7 separate regions of the Homo sapiens genome follow, and regions 2, 3, 4, 5, 6 and 7 are each linked to region 1. The links are contacts of gene promoters, found by promoter capture Hi-C in blood cells and fetal thymus (Javierre and others, 2016). All regions are on one chromosome and are shown on one strand. The core of a region is centred on a gene start or on the middle of the fragment in contact, and the rest is flanking DNA. Distances in the headings are between cores, read along the strand shown. Region 1 holds the start of ACAD11 (acyl-CoA dehydrogenase family member 11). Region 2 overlaps ANAPC13 (anaphase promoting complex subunit 13). Region 3 overlaps ATP2C1 (ATPase secretory pathway Ca2+ transporting 1). Region 4 has its middle 3.8 kb from the start of RYK. Region 5 overlaps MRPL3 (mitochondrial ribosomal protein L3). Region 6 overlaps RAB6B (RAB6B, member RAS oncogene family). Region 7 overlaps LOC105374116 (a long non-coding RNA gene).

Region 1 (3,044 bases), core at 298-2,797:
AGCTGAAGCGGAAAGTTTCACAACTTGCCAAAGGTTAGGCAGTTACGAAGAGAGTAGTTAGATTTGAATTGCAATCAGTCTGGCGGTAGAGTCCTTACCCTTAACCATTGCACTATATTCCATCTGCTGAATTGATAAGCTTTGTTAGGAAAGAAGAAAAGAGAGGCCTGGGCAGTCTTGGTAATGTCGAATGGTTTGAGATGTTAAGGAGCACCCGAATATCTCAGAATAGAGCTAACCCCGCTCTCCCCCGCCCCGACCCCATTTAAGATGCATTGATAAGCCTTTAATGAAACTCAAAGTTTACCTTAGCAGGTTTAATATTTGATCTCATCTTCTGAAAGTTCTTACTATCAGTCTTATACACAGCGAGGCGGACTAATTAAGAGGCAAGGGTGATAGGAAACTGGACACACGTCCTCAGCAGGCACAGGAGCAGCACCATATGGCTGACTCACTGGAGGTTTTTAAAAAAGAGAAAGAATATCTTCCGATCAGTACTAAGATGTGGCCTTGCCCATTTGGGAACAGGATTCGCAGACCAAGAAAAGGGTGGCGGGCGTCCCCATGAGCGGGACGTGGGAAGCGCCTCACTTCTGACCTCACGGAGCCTGACCTCGTCCCCCGCGCCTGCCTCCGACCGGCGACGCAGGTTACCTGTAGGGATTCGAATCCACCACCTCTGAGCTCATCTTCTCGATGCGGACCCGGCCGCCCCCTCCGTCGCCGCTCCTCGGGACCTGCAGACTCCTCTCCTGGGCAAGTTCCCGCTCCAGCTCCTGGACCCGCTGCTGCAGGCGCTCCACAGACTCCGCCATGGCTGGGACTCCGGCCGCCAACGCTCCCAGCCCGGGCCTTCGCCGCCGCCTTCGCCCCACGTTGCTCGGCTGGGCCCGCGAGGGGTACGTGGGGAGGCACCTCGCCGCTGCCTTCCTAGCCCAGAGCCCTGGGGACGTGCACCCAGCGCCTCACAGACAGACACGTCTCCGAGACTCCCACAGGCCTTCCTCGGAGCCGCTTCCGGTGCGTCGCAGACATCGCTCCCCCTCATCAAAAACCTGGCTCTTTCGGCTTCCTTCCTCGCTGGGCCGGCTAAACCCGGCCGCAGCAGCACCGGGGTGATAAGTGTCCAGGGCAGGAGGCCAGCGATGTTGCCTTGCTAACCGGGTATCTAAGAGAAACAGGGTCTTTTTATTCTTAGGCTCGACAGTCTGACGGCCCTTTTTCTGAACGGGACCCTGCAGGTCTTCCGCCTGCTGTTGCATTAAATTTGGGGGTGGAAGAGGCTTCTGCGTTGTTCCTTACCCGCAACGATGACCATGGCTTTGCCTTCTTTAAAATTGAGGCCTCCAACTCTGACGCTGACTGGAGAATTGAAACCCGAACACACATTGGGCTCTTTTGGCACTTGACTAGAGCTAAAACCTCGGGATTCAGCGGGCAAGCGTTGCTCAGCAACGGCGCGTAGGCTGTGTGCGGTTGGCTGGAGCCAGACCCCACCCCGGCCTCGGCCCATGCTCTAGAGGGGACGTTGCCCCAATCCTGAAGGACTTCGGCACTCGAGACCTGTGGATGCCGCGTTGCTGTGGCCTGCGGGGGTGATCATGAAGCCAGGTGCTACTGGCGAGTCCGATTTGGCCGAAGTGCTGCCCCAGCACAAGTTCGACAGCAAGTCCCTGGAGGCCTACCTAAACCAGCACTTGTCTGGCTTTGGGGCCGAACGTGAGGCTACGCTGACCATTGCCCAGTACAGGTATGGATGTCAGCCTTTGCCTCCAGCGGAAAAAAATTTGTACATTGAGTTTTCCTTCCTTTGGCCCTGGGTGGTTTCCTAAGTTTCTCCCACCCTGATTGCTTTTCCTGCAGTCAGTGGACGCACCCTACAGGCATGAGCTGCTATTGCCGGCCCTCCGAATTCGATGCTGGGGGCTTCCCAATTGGAGGGCGGTAATGGAAGCGCAATAACGTTCACCATTCTACTATCCAAAGGAATCTTTGTTAAAGGATGGATTTATGTCCCTTGAGGATTCACCAAGGCAATTAAGGCTACAAATTCTGAGAAATAGATGCCTTCTTTTGTGATACAGCCATTAGATCTTTTTCTGAGAAGCTGGTGTAATTCCGTTTGATTGGCCGTATTCCGGGAGGCTGAGTTAATGACACCAGATGGAGGATCCGAATTCGAGTACTAGCTTTTCCACTTAGGAGGTCACAGCACCACTTTGGGCCTCAGGTTTTTTGAAGTGAGGTAATGGAACTGAGTGAGAGGATCCTGAGAGTAGCGTTCCCCACCGGGAATCTGGCTTTAGTCTGATGTTTTACAATAGATAATACATTCTTAAAACTTTATTCTAAAAATAACATTGTTACTAATACAGGGCTACAGAAAGAGTCCTATCATTCAGAAAACTGGATCTGTCACTTGCTGTCTGGGAGTTTAAATATGTTACATAAACACTCTGAGAACTAGTTTCCTAAGTTGTAATACCTATTTTGATTAGTCTTATTAATGAAATGAAATACCGTAATATAGGTGAAAGGGCGTAAAAATTGCAACAACATAGTGTGCTAGTGGTATTTTATCACTAGCATTTATATTCTTTGACTACTGATTTTGGTGAAAATGAAAATAATAATAAATGAGATGGATCAGGGAACATTTTAGGGTGTAGAATTTAAAGGTCCCATGTCCCAATAGATATTGGAAGATGAAGGGAAAGGTGGAATAAAGAATAGCTGAGATTTCTAGGCTAGAAGCCTTGTGTTGTAACAAACTGAAACAGATCAAAGTTCAAATTTCAACTATTTCAATTGCTGTGGAATTTGGACAAGTTACCCTTTGAACATCTAGTCCTGCTTTGGCAAAAAGGAGATAGTAACGTTCATATTGTAGGAGTGTTGAAGAGGTACATAACTGAAAGATACTTAATTCTGAACCAAGCTGAATGTTAAACCATAACCGTGTTCAAAAAATGAAATTAGTTGTAAATTAGTTGTGGTATAAAAATTGCTTCCAGAAATGTTGTATAAGCTTGGTTTAATAA
Region 2 (3,044 bases), core at 149-2,648, 1.8 Mb before region 1:
CAATACCACTGGTAGGTTATGATTTGAGCTGAGGATGGGTTAAAGGTATTGATCTGGCAGTAACTAGTGGAGGAGGGATATCAATGGAAGATAAACTAGTGTGGCAAAGAAATCAAAGCTGTGGAATTCTCTAACTCTAGAAGCTTCTGGAGAGCATCCAGTTGTATGTTTTATTTGAAGAAAAATGTGGTTCAGGGAGCTAACATGGCCAGGTCAGTTAGGAGTCATGCCAGGACTAGAGCCCCGATTTTCTGAGCCATGTTCTGTCCACCACACGAAAACCAGAGAAACCAAATAATGAGAGTTTAATGCGCAAGATGGGGAAGAACAAGAAGCAGCAGCATATGAGCTCTGTTTCTTACTTCCCTGCCTGTGGCTCATCAGTCTTTCAGCATTTTTAGAAACTTACATTCTTGGAGCATACACCTATCTTAGGTTCCCTGGAAAATATTCAGAAGATACCTGGGTATTCTTTTGCGTTTAGGCCAGTGGCCTTCTGGAATACTCTTTTCTTCCCCATCTTTGGAAAACTCTGCTGCAGGGAGTTTGTTAAACCTCATGTAATAAGTGATCCAAAAGTTTTGCTTATATAAATGTTTGTTTAAAATCCTATTTATGTCATAGAGGCCTAAAAAAGGGAAAACAGGACTGTTTTTCTTTAAAGCATGCCAGCTGCCCTGAGAAGAGTAGTTAGTATTGAATAAAATATAATTTATAGTTAGAATATCTGCTGTTGCTGTTTGCAAAGAAATAAAATAGTTCATCTGTATTTTCATTTACGAATAAGAGATAGTAATATGTTCAATGAATAATATACATATCAAATAAGTCATAGCTTAGTTCAAGCTTAGGAAAATAGTCAAAAGAGAGAGCATAATAAGAATTATAGATGTCATTTATTGAATACCAGTTTTATGCCATGGACTGAGGTTGGAAATATACATTATCTCTAATTCTTAAACAACCCTGTGAGGGAGGTGCTGTTATTCCCATTTTATAGGAAAAGAATAGGATCAGAAAGGGCAACTTGCCCAAAGTCTGGTAGCAGGTAAGTAGGGCTTCATATAACATATACCTAGGTCTGTGAAGTTCCAAATCCTGTCTTGTGAACTTCTGTTCATTCATTCATTTGACAAGCATTTTTTGAAGCCTACTGTGTGCCATAAGACTATGTGAACATAAGATACAGTTCCTCCTCCTGAGGGGTCTAGAAAGGCAACACTTATAGATAAGTAATTGTGATAATAAATATTCTAGGTGGGGGCATAAACAGCCACATCATATACGAAGTGGCTGATTGCCTGGTGGGCATCAGAAAGGCTTCTGAGAGAATGTCATGTTTAAGCTGGGTCATAAGGAAGGACCAGAAGTTTAGTGGAGGTAGACAAGGGTATTGCAGCAGAGGGGACAGATGTGTAAAGGCCCAGAGTTTTGAAAGGCTTTGGGACATGGTGAGTCATTCACTGTGGATGAAGAATACATTTGTCACATAAGTAGGCTGAAAAGTTGGGCTTGGATCAGATTGAGAGTGGTATTTGATATCACACTTAGACCTCATCCTCAGGAGATCCAGGAATGAATGGTCTTAAAAGCAAGACTGCTATGCTCAGATTTGGCTTTTGGAAAATCAGTTTAGCCAGCATTGTTAGAGATGGTGTGACATGGAGATAGGGGCAAGTGAGACCAATTGGCAAGCTGTTGTGGTCTAGGCAAGGGAGGAGGGCCTAAACAAAGTCAAGAAAATAAAGGAGACGTCCATTTCTGGAGAAGTTTATGGCTCAGATTGGAGAACATTTGGGTGGCAGGGGTGGAAGGAGGTTTCCCTGCTGACTTCCAGGCGAAGTTGGCTTGGCCCTGCTGCTAATCCACACCTTTCGCTTGTCTTGCGATTCTAAGGCAATGTGTATGCCAGTTAGGTTTTGCTGCATAACAAGTCACCCCAAAGCTTAGTGACTTAAAAGAGCAACTGTTTATTTCATGATTTTGTAGCTCAGCTGGGAGGGACTTCTAGTCTGCACCAGCTCAGCTGATCCCTGCCAGGCTTGCCTGTGTTGTGCAGTCAGCCAACAGACTCTGGAGGCTGGGTAATCTAGGACTGTCTCACATGTCTGGCAGTTAACAAGCTGTCTGCTGGGTGATGGGGTGACTATGCCATGGTCTCTGGTATCCAGCAGGCTAGCCCAGACTTCTCAATCTCAGGGTTCCAAGAGCAACCTGAGAGGAAACGGCAGAGCTTCTTGGAGCTTAGGCCAAGAACTGGCCCACTGGCATGACAGCTTCATTCTGTTGGCCAAAACAACTCACAGGGCCAGTCCAAATCCAAGATTGGGGAAATCAGTTTCACCTTTTGATAAGAGTAGCTGCAAAGAACTAAGGGCATTTTACAGTACACCATAATGGGTGGCTGGGTTTATGATACTTTTGTTTTTGTTTTCCAGGCATATATGCCATTTTATGTGTTGGCATGTATTGCAAGGGACAGTAGATACCAAATGAAAGACACATTATTTTAGAAAGCATACCACAGATAGGATGAAATTAAGCAACGTTGTCTGCTTCTGAATTAAAGAATTCATTAACCAAGGACCTATTTATTCTTTGTCATCTATAAGTAATTATTAGGACTGAACTTTCTTTTTAAGTTTAAGATAATATATTATTGCGTTACAATAAATGATAGCTCTTCTCAATCTGTTCAAGTATGTTTGAATCTGTCTTGTAGAACAAGATGTATGTGATTCAAATATAGATAAGTAAATATCATTTAATATATATTGAGCATAATTTTAGAGGGGAAAACATATTCACATACTACAAATTAGAATCCAGTGGAAAATTTTAAGTCTGGATATCGCATAACAGTTTGCTAACCATAAAACAAAACACAGATAATTGAAAAGAAATATATTGGTATCTGTGAACTCTGGTACAAAGCAGAGTTTCAGTAGTAATACATTTAAACTTAAAATACAAGTAAATGATCCCAGATCCTACAGTAAGTGTGGCCCATGACTTACCATTTTAAGAAAATTGCTGGTAGGGTG
Region 3 (3,044 bases), core at 309-2,808, 1.8 Mb after region 1:
CACTTCTGCTTAATGAATTATAAATATATTTTCTCCTCCTCATAATTTTCTTGGTAAGTTTTTTTCTCTACTTTATTGCAAGAATACAGTATATAATACATATAGCATACAAAGTATGTGTTAATTGACTGTTTATGTTATCAGTGAGGCTTCCAGGCAACAGTAGAGACTATTAGTAGTTTAGTTTTCAGAGAGTTAAAAGTTACATGCAGATTTTCAACTGCATGGTGGGTCAGCACCCCAACCCCCACATTGTTCAAGGGTCAACTGTATTAACAAATGCATATAAGTAGCAGTCATATACATCCAAGAGGAAATTATCAATTTAGCCTTTTTTTTGAGAGATCCTTTCTTTCATGAAATGATGGCATTAACCTCAGGATGCACCCTTTACTGCCTTTTACCAACATTTGTCTACATGAAAAGCATAAAGATAACCTTGTCACAACTGATGCCTGAAACCATTATTAAAAAGAATTTGTTTCAACAAAGTAAATGTGAGGGGACCTCTTGAACTGATCCTTAAGATATTTTAAGATGCTACATGTAACAACGGTGTAATTTAAAATTCATGCTAACTTTACCATCAAGCCACAGTGTTCCTGGCACCTTTAAAACAAAATTTAACCTTGCAAAACAGATCATGGCTAACTAAGATCTCCAAAATCAGTCCTGGGCCCCTAGGGGTGTGTTCCCTAGGAAACTATTTTGTTTCATAATGCTTTGCGTTAACAGACCTGAATTCTGCTGACTTTAAATGAATGACAAAAATATGAAGACAAATCAAGTATTTGGAATCCAACTGTCAGAAGGTTATTGCATACAAGTACTCTCTACAGCATCCTCTGGCTTAAATTACTACAGTTTACAAAATGTCATATATATAATCTCTTTTAGTTTCAACTCTTTTTCAGAGTACTAATTAAGACTATCATTTTATGGACAAAACTGCAAACAACATAAACTATATTTCCCACACCCAAAGATATATTTTTATAACCTGGTTTCCTATTTTCAGTTAAAGGAATAAAATTAAGGTGGCTTCTCATCCCTTTTTCCCTATAGCTTCTCCAACTATAGTAATGCAATTTTTTCTTGAGACATTCCTAGCTGATTAACAATTTGAAATTGAATTAAGAAACTGCTTTTAAAAGTAAAGTGTAAATACAACCATTTTCAAACAAAAAAGATTGGGGCATTGTTCTCTACACCTATTAGCTCTGTCTATAATCTTAAATTAACCATGTCCTGAAATCCTGAAGACTATTACATTTCTATCCACTAGTCAAACATTTAAGGCTATATTAAAGTTTCATGTGTATTAAAGTCACACTGAATTTTCTATGGGAAAGGCCAAATTTATTCCAAAAAATAAATCCATTACTAGAAAGGAAAACCTATGTGCAAGCTTCTCCAGCTAGACATATCTTTTCTAGTAAGCTATCACTTTAAACATGCAATTAACTTTTAAAAATCAGGTAAGAGCTGTTTACTTGTGCATCTCAAGATGCCTAAGCGGGATCTGTTTAGATTTGTGATAAACATGTAAAAACAAATTCCAAAGGATCTGGATAAAATCCTAACTCACGACTGAATGTTAAGTAGTCCAAAAATTCCAGGAAATTAACATTTTAAACGTTCCTAGTGACAAGCAGAAAGTGTTCATGAAACATCCTGGAGTCTACAGCTAAAAATTGGTCAAGCTTTGCTGAGAAAGTTTAAATGGGCCCTAGGAAAAAAGTCCAGAAGAATCTAAACCGAAGTGCCAAAGAAAATACCACCATTGCTGAAGGAACCAACACATGGATGAAACCATTTCCTCCCCACACCACTGTAAGCTACCTAAGAAACCTTCATGCTGATGCTCTAGGGAAACACTATCAATTCTACACTGTTCACACCCACAAATGTAACTACCTGCATACCTACTGGAGGATACTCTTACTAGGGAACAGCAGCATCACTCAATTCATCCAAGTTAACTGTATGTCAAACATTGCTCTGGCGGCTTCATTTATTACTCACATCAACTTTGCAAGAGGGCATTATCTCATTTACAGATGAGATAACTTAGAGGCTGAGAAAGCTTAGAAGCCTAGTAACTTGTCAGATTTTTCAGGAGAGGAAAACATTACTTGTCGGGCTTCAAATCCAAACCTGTCTCTTTCTGTACTGGACCCTGGCTTCTTGGTAGAGCCCTAACTTTTTCTGTAGGCTTAAAAGCACTAATGCCATAGAAAATTCCTTACCTAACTCCACTTATCCCTCAACTAACAATGACAACTTCATTTTGAGCATTTGGCTACTACTGTTCCCCCTTCCAACATTTAACTGTCATGACAATATTAATGCCAGGTGGCCTATTAGTATGTATCAAACATTCAGCTAGGCAATTTATAATTAACATTTACCGAGCACTTACTATGTGCCAGATACTGTTTGAATGTTTACAACAACCTCATAAGGTAGGTTCTATCATTATCTTTATTTTATGAAGAAACGGAAGCACAGAAAACTTTAATATGCACAAAGCCAAATGGTAAGCGACGAATCCAGCATTCAAATCAGTCTGCATGGTTCCACCACAACTCAAGCTCTTAAACGTTATCATTCCTACCTCACAAGAGAATTTATACAGGGTTTCTCATTTAATCCTCTCAATTCTGTGAGTTAAAGATTATCAATCCCAATTTATAGATGAAGAAATACAGGCTCAGAAAGGTGACGTAATTTACTTAAAATCACACAGCTTTAAGTGGTTCAAGACAAGTTAGTCAAGACTTGAATCCATTTTTGTTTCACACCTCCAAATTGTTAATACTACACTATATCAAAGAAGGATGAAAACTACAAAAAGGCAAGTGAACAATAAAAAGGCACAGGTATCAATCTATGTAGTTTAATATGGTCAGTCACTTTTGAAAATTTCTAGGCTATATACAGGCTCTTCTTCAAACTGTTTATATATAAAAAAAAATGTGACGATAGGGAGAAACTGACAAAAATGGTCTCTTGATGGTCAAGAATAACGGGACAGAAAACCC
Region 4 (3,044 bases), core at 197-2,696, 1.6 Mb before region 1:
TTTTTGCCGAATTTCTTTTTCACCTTGGGGAGAATGAAATTCTGCACATTTGAGCTAAACAATTCAACATTGAGGTTTGTGGTTAAAAAAAATGCTTATGACAAGTGAAGATGCCCTATAATACTGTGACTTCTCATAGGATCACTTGCCTATTTTAGTTTCAGTTACTGTAGCTAATGCCATTTGTCAATTGTTTAAAGTGCTATGAAAAATGTAATTTTTAAAATGAAATGCTGAACAACCTGGAACTAATATCTAGATCAGCACTGCCCAATAGAAATGTCAGGCCATAAACATAATTTTCTAGTAAAGTCAAAAAAGGTAAAAGAAACATATGAAATACATTTTAATAATATATTTTAACACAATATATCTAAAATATTACCACTCTAACATTCAACCAATATAAAAATTATCAATGAAATATTTTACATTCTTTTTTTTTTTAATACCAAGTCTTCAATATCTGGCATGTACTTTGCACTTACAGCACATCTCAATTCCTACCAGCCACATTTGAAGTACTTTATAGCCACATGTGGCTAGTGCCTACTATACTGGCCAGTGTAGAACTACATGATCTCAATGTGAAAGGTATGTGAAGAAAGAGGGAAGTGAAAGCAGGCTGAAATTCCTGTTTTGTTTAAAGTTAGATATGGCCACTAAGGAACATTCAGTAAATGTAATAACTAGTGTTTGGTACAAATGGTTAACCATATGGAAAAAATAAAATTGTATCATGTGCCATACATAAACATAAATTCCAGATAGATTAAGGAGCTATTTTTTAAGAGAAAAAAGTACAAAATACAAAAAGTATTAATTGGGGGACCTTTGAAAGACACAAAATGCGGAAGCCATAAAGGAAAAGATTGTCAGATTTATCTAAAATAGAAATCCAAAATTTAAGTTAAGTAAAGAACATCATAAGAAAAGTTAAATGACAAGGGATACAGTAAAAGAAAACATCCATAAATCAATAAGAAGACAAATAAGCTAACTAAAAAATAGAATATGTGGGCAGATATTTCAAAGAGTAATTTGAATATGCAATAAGTATATGAGATACTTAACCGCACTAGTGATGAGGGCAATGCAGATTAAACAACAATAAGCTATTTTTCTTTCACTAGACTGTCAACAGCAAAATGAAAAACATTGGCCTATTACCTTGTGTCTCTCATTTATGCCACATTTGGAAATGTATATTTGTAAAATCTTTTGGAAGGCAATTCAGCAGAATCTATCAAAATTAAAACATAACTCCTTTGGACTTGAAGATTCCATTTCAGAGAATCTGTTCTTCTAAATATTTATACATATGCACAAAGATGTATGTGCAAGGATTTGATGTGTATTACCAGAACTGGTAAAATCCATCAGTTCATCCCAACCAAAAGAACACCACAGGGATGCCTCTGTATGCCCTGTCATGAGAACATCCTCGAGATCTCAACTTACTTAGATCAGTCAAAAAAGCAAATCCTGTAGATCACAACTTTTTGTTGTGTTGTCCATTTCTATAAGGCTGAAAAAGAGCACACACATACAATTGTGTGTTTAAACCCATATATGTGTGAGTAACTGCCTAGAGAAAGGGCTCTCAGAACATACATCAAACTGGGCAGTGGGTAAGAGAGACGAGGGTGTGTGTGGAGGGACATATTTATATTTTATTTCACATACTTCTGTGCTGCTTGACTCTTTTACAGTGCAAATGGTTTAATATATTACTTGTGGAAGGAGAAGGTTTATAGAGAGAGCCACATTCCCAACTGCTCCTGGCAAAAGACGAGGCTGATTTCAGGACTTGGAGCCACCCCTTCTCCAACCACCCACCCCCACCCAGCTGAGTGGTTGGGTCAGGTCCATGTTGCTGAGTTGTCTCTGGGTGTCTGTCCTTGCGGGCACCAGGTATTCTCAGCCCACACCAGAGGTCAAACATGGAACACCCATCATCTCTGTGTAGCTTTGACCCCACGCTCCCATCTACCCATCTACCCCATGGCATCTCAAGTCCAAGACTGGCTTTTTAAAGTACAAGTCCTGCTGATGGTATTTCCTGGCCATGCTGAAATATGTCTCCTGGAGGAGGAGAATAAGGTCAACCACTGTGACAAACAAAACCAAGAGTGGAGGGCCAATGTGTGGATTGTGTTGATGACTGTGGCTTTCATTTCCCCAAGGCAAAGAAACCTCAGGAGGCTGTGGTCATGGTTTCTCATTTTCATGCTGAGGCTTTTTGGGAAATTTCAGAAGTTGCCACCCACACCTTGTTAGGGGAGGGAGAGGAAACTTCCTCTTCAGGATGGGCTGGGGATTGTGGGAAGACCTTTGTGTGAGACCAAGTGTCATGCAGAGACAGCAAGAGAGAGACTGGGAATCAATTCCTTCTCCAAGGGTTTAATTAAAGTGTGGGGAAGTTTGCAATCTTATTCAGAAGTTAACATCTGAGCATAGATTTGAAGGAGGTAAGAGATGAAGCCATGTGGGTGTCAGACAGAAGCATTCCAGAGACAGGGAACAGCAGTGCAAAGGCCCTGAGGTAGGATTGTGTCTGGTTTGTTGGAAGAACAGAAAGGAAGCCTTTGTGGTGTGGCAGGAACTAAGGGAGTAGGCGGTGAGCAGAAGATAAGGTCAGAGGGAAGGGAGAAAGGTGGAGAGTGAGAACTACCTTGACATCTTGGAAAGACTTTGCCTTTTATTCTAGGTGAGTTGGGGAACCACTGGTGGTCTGAAAGCCAGAGAGTACATGATCAGGCTGACGTTTAACAGAATGCCTCTGTCTGCTGTGTTGGGAACAGACTGAGCGAGTAAGGGAGAAAGCAGGCAACTGCAGCTGACCAAAAGAGAGACAGGAGAGCTGAGATATTAATGGAGTGACCAGCAGCATCAGAATTACCAGGAGGCTTGGGAAAACAGATTGTTGGGCCCCAGCCCTGGAGCTGCTACCTGTTAGTATGGGCAGTGTCCAAGGAATTTACATTACAAGTTCCCAGGTGATGATACTGCTGGTCTGGGGGCCACACTTTGAGAACTTGTCT
Region 5 (3,044 bases), core at 406-2,905, 1.2 Mb after region 1:
TCAAATCTGGATGAGTTTATGTTTTGAGATTGTTCCACAGCCACAAACTTGCATTTGTTTGTGAGGTAAATTGTGTATTTGGGGGAGGCAGTCTGGCACAGCCATTTTGCCCAGGAGTCTTGGAGACTCTTGAGTTTGTTCTAATACCTCTCCCTGTATCTGGAACAAGTAATTTTACCTCTCTAAGCTGTAGTGCTTGTATATCTGTACAATGGGAACAAAAATACTACATACCTAATAGATTTATCACAAGGATTAAATTAGGTTTTTCAGATGTGCTTGGAATATAACAGACACTCAGTAGATTTGGTTATTTTGTTATTGTTTTATGTTTCATTTCACTTTCTTCCTATGGAAAATTGTCTTAACTCTTGACACCAAGAGCATGTGGAAATTAATTTTGTGTATTCTGGAAGGAGCTTTCAGTGTTTGGGAGAAAGCTGTATAAGAATCCAAATCAGATTTTTTTTAATAAAGCATTTTTTTTTAAGTAGAGTACTGAGTTTGTAGTTTAAGTTTGGAAAAGCTGCCCAATGAGTATCCTGTATTGAATAACTAAAACCAGAAAACCTTTCTCAAAATGGTGATGGTTTTCAGTAAACATCTTTAGGTTTACTATAACACATTGCTTATCTCTAAGACAAACTTTTTTTTCATTGTAAACTGTTTATGAAATGAACAAGGCAGAAATTAGGATACAACCCATACTCTCTGACTGTCAAAACTATCAGGTGTTTATCCTACTAACTACTCTATTTTCTGATAGTTAACTTTTATTGAACATTTATTACATGCCACGTGCATAAGCATTACGCTTTTTTCATTTGTTACTTTATATAAACTTTTCAGCCTCTGAGGCTAACGCAGTTAACTAACTCATTCAAAGTCACCCACTGGTAAAAGGTAGAGCGACAGACACCAGAGCCTTACTTAACTGTGTCTTGATATCTACCCACTGGGAGCTCATAAGCTAGTGAGGAAGTTACACAAATAAACCAGCCATCCCAGTACAATATTATAAATCCAAGGAGCACAGAACCGGAGACAGCCAATTCTGCCAGGGAAAATCCCAGGAGGTTTCACAGGGAGAACAGAAAGGAAAATGGGTGTTACAGGCATGCCAGAGAGAATGGCCTCTGCAGAAGCAGAGACAACATGGAAGAGCATGTGTGCTTGGGGAGAGAAGTGTAATGTGGCTGCATTTTAGTGTGCAGGCCTGGGCCAGTGTTGGGAGGGTGGTGAAGCTGCAGCTATCAAGGTAGTGTGTGAGGTTTAGACTTCATCTTACGGACTTTGAGGTGCTTTCTGAATTCTTTAACTAGGTCAGTAACTTGTTCAGATTGTTAAATTAGTTAACTAAAATTTTAAAAATCTGATAGAAGGAAAGAGTTTTTAGGAGATTGTTTTAAGAGATCAGGGGAGAGTTGATAAGAGCCTTTAGAAGCAAGGCAGTTGCATTGAGATTGGAAGGGGCAGGGATTGGAAAGGACTAGGTGGGAGGACACAACTAGGTCAGTGCTGATTGCATACTCTGGGATAGGAACAAGGAAAAGGGAAGCTTTGGAGGAAAGATGTTTGAGATGTTCACAGGAAATCATAGTTCTATAAATGGTGAGAAATACTGATTAGTCAATAAGTGGTGGTGGAAATCACTGAAATCTGTGACATGGTTTATTTTGTTTCGTGTTAGAGAAGTTAGCTATTTTTGAATATTATGGTAGCATACTCCATTTATTTTTCTTTAAAGCTTTGTCATAATATCTGTCCTGCTATTCTTAACAGTTTATTGACTAACAAATTTGGGTTTCATATAACTCCATAGTAATTATAGAGTACAATGAGATATTTATGGGAACTTTTTAAAAAAATCAAGTGTTTGACTTTTTAAAAATTTATTATGTACCAGCCTTCATATGAGTAATTCTTTGGTTTGATAGATGCCACTGTTTTCTACTTGATTGTACTTCTGTGTTTTTGTAATGACTAGCATCATCATCTTCATTTTCATTACAAGTTTTGTAAATTGATGCCTTCATGGCCTGGATATTTGTAAATCAAGCATGCTAGGGTAATCCCTTCTGCCCCAGCCAGGTCTGTGAAGATTGCTTCCTCTGAAATATGAGGTAGTGAGAAAACAAGTGATGTGGGATCAGAAAAGTTGAGTTCTAATCCTGATTTCTACCTTTAGGTCCCCTATACTCACCTTTTGAACATCTATTTTCTTACCCATAAAAACAAGGAATAGTACTTGATGGTCTCTGAATTATCTTCCAGTTCTGAAAGTCTCACATTGGTTCTCTGAATATTTTAATTCTCAAGAAAAAACAAGTTTGGAGAAAAAAAGTACATGGGAGCTCAATTTATTCTATTTTACTTAGTGATAAAGATGTGTTATAATCAAAATTTTATGAAAGTAATACTAATAGTATTACTATAACAGTACTAATAATTAATATTACAGAATGATAGGTATTGCATTTCATAGTCGAGGCTGTTCACACATTTTTTTCTCTTTAGCTTATTCTGATAGCTTTATTCTCTTCAGTGGTTACATAGCACAGCAGGGTGATTTGGATGTTGTGTTCTAATGTTGTGGTGGATTTTGACCCACTTAATTTACGTAAACTTTGAAAACTTCACTTCTCTAGCATAGAAAGTACTGCGAAGGACCTTCTTTCTTCAAGATATAAAATTTCTTCAAGATATAAAATTTCTAAGTCCAGATGACATTTATTACAATAACAAGAAAAAGCTTTGTCTATAAAATGACCTTTCTTCAAAATGAAATGTGAAAATGAAGTTTTAGAATTCTTTGTAAATACATCATTTTTGTTTGAAAACAAAGATTTTTGAAACTAAAAGTATCCAGACTTCCATATTATAGCTCTCAGGAAAAAATGCAAATCGATTGATTATAGAGGATTTTTTAAAAAACGAAGACCTATGAATATAAAATTTCATATATCTAAACATTTGGAAATTAAATCACTTTATAATAGTGTTAGAACTGTTTTCTTTTAATCTGTAAAGAATTTATGCCTCCA
Region 6 (3,044 bases), core at 229-2,728, 1.2 Mb before region 1:
TTGAAATGGTGGTAGTTAAGAGTGCAGACACATCTGGGGTGCAACGTCTGCATCATCCTGGTGGCTAGCCAGTGCGGGGAGGCCCTGCCCTGGGATACCAGTTGTGACAATAAAGGGATGGCCCTCCTGGCTTCAGCATCCTGCAGGTAGAGCAGCCTCATTCCTTCACAAGATGGAAGGCAGGTGAGGATGTCAGGATGAGATGGGACCAGGTAGCCGAGGACAGTGAGGCATGTCTGAGCCACTTGAGGGGCAGCTGAACAGAAGGATGTCTGTGTGCATCAACCGAGCAGATTGTGCGCACACTCGTTTCCGAACTGCCTCTCCCCAAAGAATGTGAGGCATTGTCACCTTGTTACAGCTATGTGAAGCAGAGCTGTCACAACTTTTCCTGTCTACAGGCAGGAAAACCAGGATGGAGAAGGGCAACTTGCTTATTAAGATCACCCAGCAAGTTAGGAGTGATCAGAACCAGTGAAGTTTCCATTTTTCATCCATTGCTGCCCTGTGTGTGAACAAATGTGACTCCATATTTATTACACAGCAAGGACTGCTGTGTGTGGGTGTGTTCCTCAGACCATCTCTACTCTTTTTGGTTAGGACACTAGGTTCTTCCCAGCATATGAGTGAGAATATTGGTGGTATTTTGGGCTCCTCTACTGCACAAGGGCCAGTCCCCAAGTCTACTCTGATTGATTGTCATGGGCACCCACACAGATCAGGACACCCTTTGAATTTTTGTTTGACATGAACTATTTAGGTGTTCCAAAACCTTGGGATCTCAATGTGCAAACTCCTTGGACTCCAGACCCCTGTCTGGTTGGCACTCCCAGCAGTGTGTGGTTTCATCAGGAAATCCTTGCAGCAGGGGTTTAGATGGTTCCTTCAGGAGGTGGGAAGCCTCCATAGCATTGAAGGCCAGCCTGCATCTCGCGGTGTGTGTCCACTTCTCCCCTCACTTTCCCCTCACCCATCCCTTTAAAGTGATTGGCTGTGAGGAGCACAGAGGGTGGCAATTCCATCTGTTATGGGCTCAGAAGACATAGCCGCCATGTTGATTTCACATTAAACTGTGTAAAATGTGGAAAAGACTCAGCATGTTGGTCAAACAATAAACTGTCCTAATTCTCAAAACAAAGCTTCTTGTCTGTGTTTAAGTGGTGCAGTCATAAATGGGGGGGTTCAAAAACAGTTCCTGAAGTGTGTGCTCCACAGAGTCCCTTTTGTCATGCCTGGGTGGTATGTCCACTACCTAAAGCCCTTTGCTGCTTTGCTTCTTCCTCCTACTGGTGGAGTTGGGCTGTCCACCAACTCCGAAGGGGTAAAGATGGGACACACTCATGAGAGTAAATCCACACGCATTCCCCTAATCTCCATTCTGCTGAAAGGCTGATGGGAAGGGAGCCTCCAGGCAGAACTGAGTCAGGGGTACGATATATTCCTTCATCCCCACTCTGCTTGCCATGGCTAGGGGATTAGGAAGGGGGGAGAGGGTACAGGGACTGGATCTCTCATGCTTCTGGTGATTTTCAGAAAGCCATTTAAAGGCAAGAACTTAAGGTGAACTATAATGACCTTTGACAACATCTAGCTGCCATATTCCATCCCCAGCCCCACACCACACCAGTTAGGAACATCCCTGAGTGGCCCCTCCAGGTCTCAGTTATCTCCAGACTAAAAGATGCTCAGAAAGCCAGCACAGTCCTGGGACCAATCCAAAGAGGAACAAAGGCCAAGATTAGGTAAATTGCCCTTGCCCGGGAATCTCACTCTTCTTCAAGTCCAACTTCACTAATTACCTTTCCTTTTAAAGCTTATAAAGGTTCCAGAACACCCTCCAATCTGCTGCCACCTCAAGGAAGCCATCTTTGATTAGAAGAGACATTGAGGCCAGGAGTTTGAGAACAGACTGGCCAACATGGTGAAACCTCATCTCTACTAAAAATTAGCCAGGAGTGGTCCCACAGGCCTGTAATCCCAGCTACTTGGGGAGGCTAAGGCAGAAGAATCACTTGAACCCGGGAGGCAGAGGTTGCAGTGAGCCGAGACGGCACCACTGCCACTCCAGCCTGGGCGACAGAGTGAGACTCTGTCTCGACAAAACAAAAAAACCCTTGAAACAATATATTCAAGTCAACAGAACATGGCCATGTGCCTCACACATCAGCATCATGGGAACACTGGCACTTCAGAGGCCAGTGGAAAAGTGGCAGTCCCGTTGGGGCTGCATGGCTGGCAGCTGACCACAAGCCCACACAGCGCTTAGGAGTCAAGTGCAGCAGTGATGGAGCTCACACTACTGAGAGAGCAGGGAAACCACACTGAAAGGGCACGTTTCTTAACCTCAGAATGGGGCTACTAGCCTCTAAAGCAGGAATTGCGTTTTGTTTAGTATTTCCATGGTCTGCTGCAAGGCGTGGCCTTTACCCAATGGATAAATGCGTACAAGGCTCTTGTGAGCAGTCAAGTTTCTCGAGGTTTACAGTTGAAGGGAAGTGGGATTGTTTTCCTGCGCATTTAAATGAAGGTAGGTGGGTGATCACCTTTCCTTAAATGTGTGAAGGGATGAGATAAAGAGATAGGCATCTTAATTGCCACTGATGGCCTTCAGGTGAGGACAGGCATGAGCCAACTGAAGCTTTGACAATTGTGCTGAACCCAAAACTTCAAAAACAAGAAAAAACATAGACTGGCTGAAATGATCTAAGTCAACAGAGCATGGCCAGCGCTTCATACAAGGCAGGACCACAGGGGAACACTGACAGCCCAGGAGGCACTGAGACAGAGGCAGTGGGAAGAAGTGACAGACCCCAGGGACTCCCCACCAACAGCAGCTGCTGTTGATTAGGAACCCCCAGTAGACTGTCAGGCACCTGGTAGTGGAGAGGCTACCAAGGCCCGGACTGGAGAGGAGCCAAAGGAAGAAACAGTGCAGTGCTTAGACCCCTCTGGGTCTGCCCGTGTCCATACCCACTAGGGAGATTCCATTCCAGAAGTGGACATATTCACCAACAGAGTGCCTGGGGCTCACTCATCACAGCTGC
Region 7 (3,044 bases), core at 286-2,785, 1.1 Mb before region 1:
CAAAGGATGCTCAGAGTCTAATACAGAGACAGAAATAGGTATGAAAATGAGAGCACAAATTTGAGAGATGTCTGAGAGTTAAAATACGTAGGATGTGATTAGTTGGATATTGTGAATTAAGTAAAAGGAATGTTATCAAGGCTGCATCCTAGGTGGTGGGTGTGGGTGACTAGGAAGATGAGAAAGCCATTAAATGAATTAGGGACCTCAACGGGAGAGGGCTTGGGGCTGTGGATCCAACGTAAGAGTAGCCAGAATGAAAATTGTCTCTTTTCTATATGTTGAGTTTTAGGTGCTTCTGGGAAATCTAAAAGCTTATGTCAAGCAAGTGATGAGTAAACACAAATAAAGTTCCACAAGTATATACTAGATTTTCATTTGGGAGTCAGGAATAAATAAGTGGTCATTAAAATCATGGAGAACATGAAGAATGAGGAAAGGAACCCACAAAAAAGCCTAAGAAGGAAGAGTCAGTGGCACAGGAGTAAAACAGACATGTCCTATAAGTGGTCAGTAGCATCTTCTGTAGCAGAGAGGCTCCTTTGACAAGGCTTTGAATGAGTCTGAGCTCAAGGGGATAAGCAAGGGATGGGGCAGTGTGGGGATGGAAGCAAGACTATGGTGTATGGGGAAGACAGTGGGGCATGAAGATAGTTTCTAATGTTAATGAGCACTTCCTGGTGCCAAGCATCATTCTAAATACTTTTAATTTTTTTTTTCAGGCAGGGTCTCACTCTGTTGCCCAGGCTGGAGTGCAGTGACAATAGGGCTCACTGTAACCTGGAACTCCTGGGCTCAAGTGATCCTCCTGCTTCAGCCTCCCAAATAGCTGGGACTACAGGCACAAACACCATGCCCAGGTAGTTTTTTTATTTTTATTTTTGTAGAGACACAGTCTCTCTCTGCTGCCTGGGCTGGTCTTGAGCTCCTGGGCTCAAGTGATCCTCCTGCTTCAGCCCCCCAGAGTGGTGGGATTACAGGCACAAGCCACCACGCCCTGCCTAATGTATTAATTTGTTTAATTCTCACACTGACTCATTTTCTAATTTTACAGAGGGGAAACTGAAGCAGGGTTGAGTAACCTCCCCAAGGATATATAGTAATGAGCAGACTTGGGACTTCATCCCAGGCAATTGGGCTTCTATCTACTTAACCGTATGCTTTAACATAGTAGGATTCATTTTCAAGGCATTTTTAATTGATAAAGGTAGGCGATAGGAACTCCAGATCAAGGAAGGACGGTTAAGATGTGAGGCTTAAGTAAGTAAACCAACTACTTTATTTTAAATTACCAATTTCAAAAATATCAGAACTGGCAGCGGTCATGCCACATTCCATTTCTCTTATTTCTTATGGTCCTAACCGCTGCTCTGTATTCACCACCCAAAACACACGCACACACCCCTTGTATAATATAACCACTGATTCCTCTTTAGAAAAATCACTGGATATTACCATTAGACCTCCTGACTGGGGACCAAAGATGCAGGGAAGAAGGAAGAGCCAGACACGGAGAGTTCCAACCGTAACTGTCTTAACTCGCTGAGGATATTTGGTCAGAGCTATGTGAATGAAGAGGGCTGCCGTGGTGGTGAAGTTGGGAAAGGAAGAAAAAAGGTTCAAGAAAAGAGACTTTTTTTCTTCAGTATGTTTCCTGGGCAGAAGAAATGTGCACAGCTCCCACACTCAGTGAGAAGTTAGCACTCCCATTCTCAGGAATGAGCAGGAGGGGTGAGATTAGTTGCTTCCCTGTACTCACCCATCTCCATCAGGAGCTCCGTGGGCACGAATGCAGAGGAAGGACATGCGATACTGACTGCTGCCTGCTGATAAGTTTTTAGTTCTTGATTCCAATAGCAGATGGAAAGTTACAATGAAACCAGTTGTAGTCAGGGAATTTTTCTCTTCTCTTCCATAAACTAAAATGTCCCATTCACCAGACACCTTCTTCCATCCGCTCCCCAAAGCTCCAATGTACAATGGAACATACCTCAGACCTAGGGATACCAATCATGGGATTCCCCTGCTATGGCTTTGTTTAAAAAAACGTTTAGAGGATTTTTAAAAACAGAATTTAACACATGCTTATTATATTAAAAACTCAAGCAATAATGAAAGCCACAAATCACCTCTATTTTTCTACCTATAGTATCTGATAAATATTTAAGACATTCCTCTGTACATATGTACTAATAAGAAGGCTGTATGGATAAGAGCAGTAAATACAAACGAACACGTTATTTTTAAAGAGATTATAGTATGCACCTCTGTATTCCCCATCCCTGAACAGTACTTGGCTCATGGGAGGCACTGGTCAACTGTTGAATGAATGATCCCAGGCCTACTGTGTCCATTGCTGTGCCCCAGGCTCCTGTCTGACATCCTCCTGCTTCACATCCCTGCCTTAGCGGGTTTGAGGACATGTCACCCTAGCCTACCAAATTTAATTTCTAATTTTAGCTTCTCAGAAAGTAGAATCTGCTGGTAAGAATAATTACATCTGAATAGAGGCACCATTTAGGATTTTCTCTAACATCATTCAATATTCTTCGTCAGATACAAGTAGGATCAGTCCCCTATATCCATCAGTCACACTTAGTCCACAGACATCTGGCCAGGCAGCTTGGGCAGCTCCCTCCAGTCCCTTAAAGGATGGAAGGGGAGAAAGGTGAGTCCACTGGAAACACAAGAGGTCCTGACAAAGAGCTCCACTTCAGAGCTGACTCACTCACTTGATTGCACCATATCTAAGCTTATTCAGCTCTGATACTTTGGACAGTCCCACAGCATACATTGTACAATGTAATCATTCATTTTTCAGGTGTAGGCATAGGGAAGGTCTGGCTCTATACCAAAACTGCTGGCTCTTAGCAGGCACCCAGTTTGCACTTATTTAAATGACTTGATCTGGGAAGGAAACACCCGGAGGTCCTAGGTGGTCCCTATCTGCTGATGGAGCAGCACAGAGAACAAATGATGTCTTAACCTTTTGAGACCAAGGAGGGGGATTTAAGGCCAGGCCAGATTACAGCCCTGAGCCTCAG

The links. The method cuts DNA at HindIII sites, captures the fragments that hold promoters and counts their contacts. A CHiCAGO score of 5 or more calls a contact.
Region 2: a contact is called between a fragment that was not itself captured here and the fragment with the promoter of ACAD11 in region 1, in 1 of 17 cell types (total B cells). The highest score is 6.4, in total B cells.
Region 3: a fragment that was not itself captured here is called in contact with the fragment with the promoter of ACAD11 in region 1 in 1 of 17 cell types (total B cells); the score reaches 6.0 in total B cells.
Region 4: a contact is called between a fragment that was not itself captured here and the fragment with the promoter of ACAD11 in region 1, in 2 of 17 cell types (fetal thymus and non-activated CD4 T cells). The highest score is 5.6, in fetal thymus.
Region 5: a contact is called between a fragment that was not itself captured here and the fragment with the promoter of ACAD11 in region 1, in 1 of 17 cell types (total CD8 T cells). The highest score is 5.7, in total CD8 T cells.
Region 6: a contact is called between a fragment that was not itself captured here and the fragment with the promoter of ACAD11 in region 1, in 1 of 17 cell types (fetal thymus). The highest score is 5.5, in fetal thymus.
Region 7: a contact is called between a fragment that was not itself captured here and the fragment with the promoter of ACAD11 in region 1, in 7 of 17 cell types (naive B cells, fetal thymus, naive CD8 T cells and 4 more). The highest score is 11.0, in naive B cells.

What each region holds. Positions count from the first base shown.
Region 1 is chr3:132,658,312-132,661,355 of GRCh38, reverse strand. ACAD11 (acyl-CoA dehydrogenase family member 11) reads left to right here and starts at 1,547. Exons shown (of 20, transcript NM_032169.5): 1 at 1,547-1,753. The coding sequence starts at 1,605. It overlaps UBA5 (ubiquitin like modifier activating enzyme 5), which reads right to left and starts at 1,027. Exons shown (of 12, transcript NM_024818.6): 1 at 658-1,027. The coding sequence starts at 818. The region is part of intron 26 of NPHP3-ACAD11 (NPHP3-ACAD11 readthrough (NMD candidate)); the gene reads left to right. RefSeq lists enhancers at 432-711, 1,082-1,171, 707-1,245. The HindIII fragment of the contact is 2,892 bases long and covers 142-3,033 here.
Region 2 is chr3:134,479,773-134,482,816 of GRCh38, reverse strand. ANAPC13 (anaphase promoting complex subunit 13) reads left to right here. Exons shown (of 3, transcript NM_015391.4): 2 at 1-11. Among named protein-coding and RNA genes, the nearest start is that of ANAPC13, 4.7 kb to the left of the region's middle. The HindIII fragment of the contact is 1,099 bases long and covers 849-1,947 here.
Region 3 is chr3:130,896,412-130,899,455 of GRCh38, reverse strand. The region is part of intron 2 of ATP2C1 (ATPase secretory pathway Ca2+ transporting 1); the gene reads right to left. Among named protein-coding and RNA genes, the nearest start is that of ATP2C1, 3.8 kb to the right of the region's middle. The HindIII fragment of the contact is 295 bases long and covers 1,411-1,705 here.
Region 4 is chr3:134,253,164-134,256,207 of GRCh38, reverse strand. No RefSeq gene overlaps it. Among named protein-coding and RNA genes, the nearest start is that of RYK, 3.8 kb to the right of the region's middle. The HindIII fragment of the contact is 4,822 bases long and covers 1-3,044 here.
Region 5 is chr3:131,495,089-131,498,132 of GRCh38, reverse strand. All of the region lies in intron 4 of MRPL3 (mitochondrial ribosomal protein L3), which reads left to right. Among named protein-coding and RNA genes, the nearest start is that of MRPL3, 6.4 kb to the left of the region's middle. The HindIII fragment of the contact is 189 bases long and covers 1,561-1,749 here.
Region 6 is chr3:133,822,329-133,825,372 of GRCh38, reverse strand. RAB6B (RAB6B, member RAS oncogene family) reads left to right here. Exons shown (of 8, transcript NM_016577.4): 8 at 1-1,138. It also overlaps a transcript of SRPRB not described here. Among named protein-coding and RNA genes, the nearest start is that of SRPRB, 18 kb to the right of the region's middle. The HindIII fragment of the contact is 674 bases long and covers 1,142-1,815 here.
Region 7 is chr3:133,800,081-133,803,124 of GRCh38, reverse strand. The region is part of intron 1 of LOC105374116 (a long non-coding RNA gene); the gene reads left to right. It also overlaps a transcript of SRPRB not described here. Among named protein-coding and RNA genes, the nearest start is that of SRPRB, 4.2 kb to the left of the region's middle. The HindIII fragment of the contact is 2,438 bases long and covers 317-2,754 here.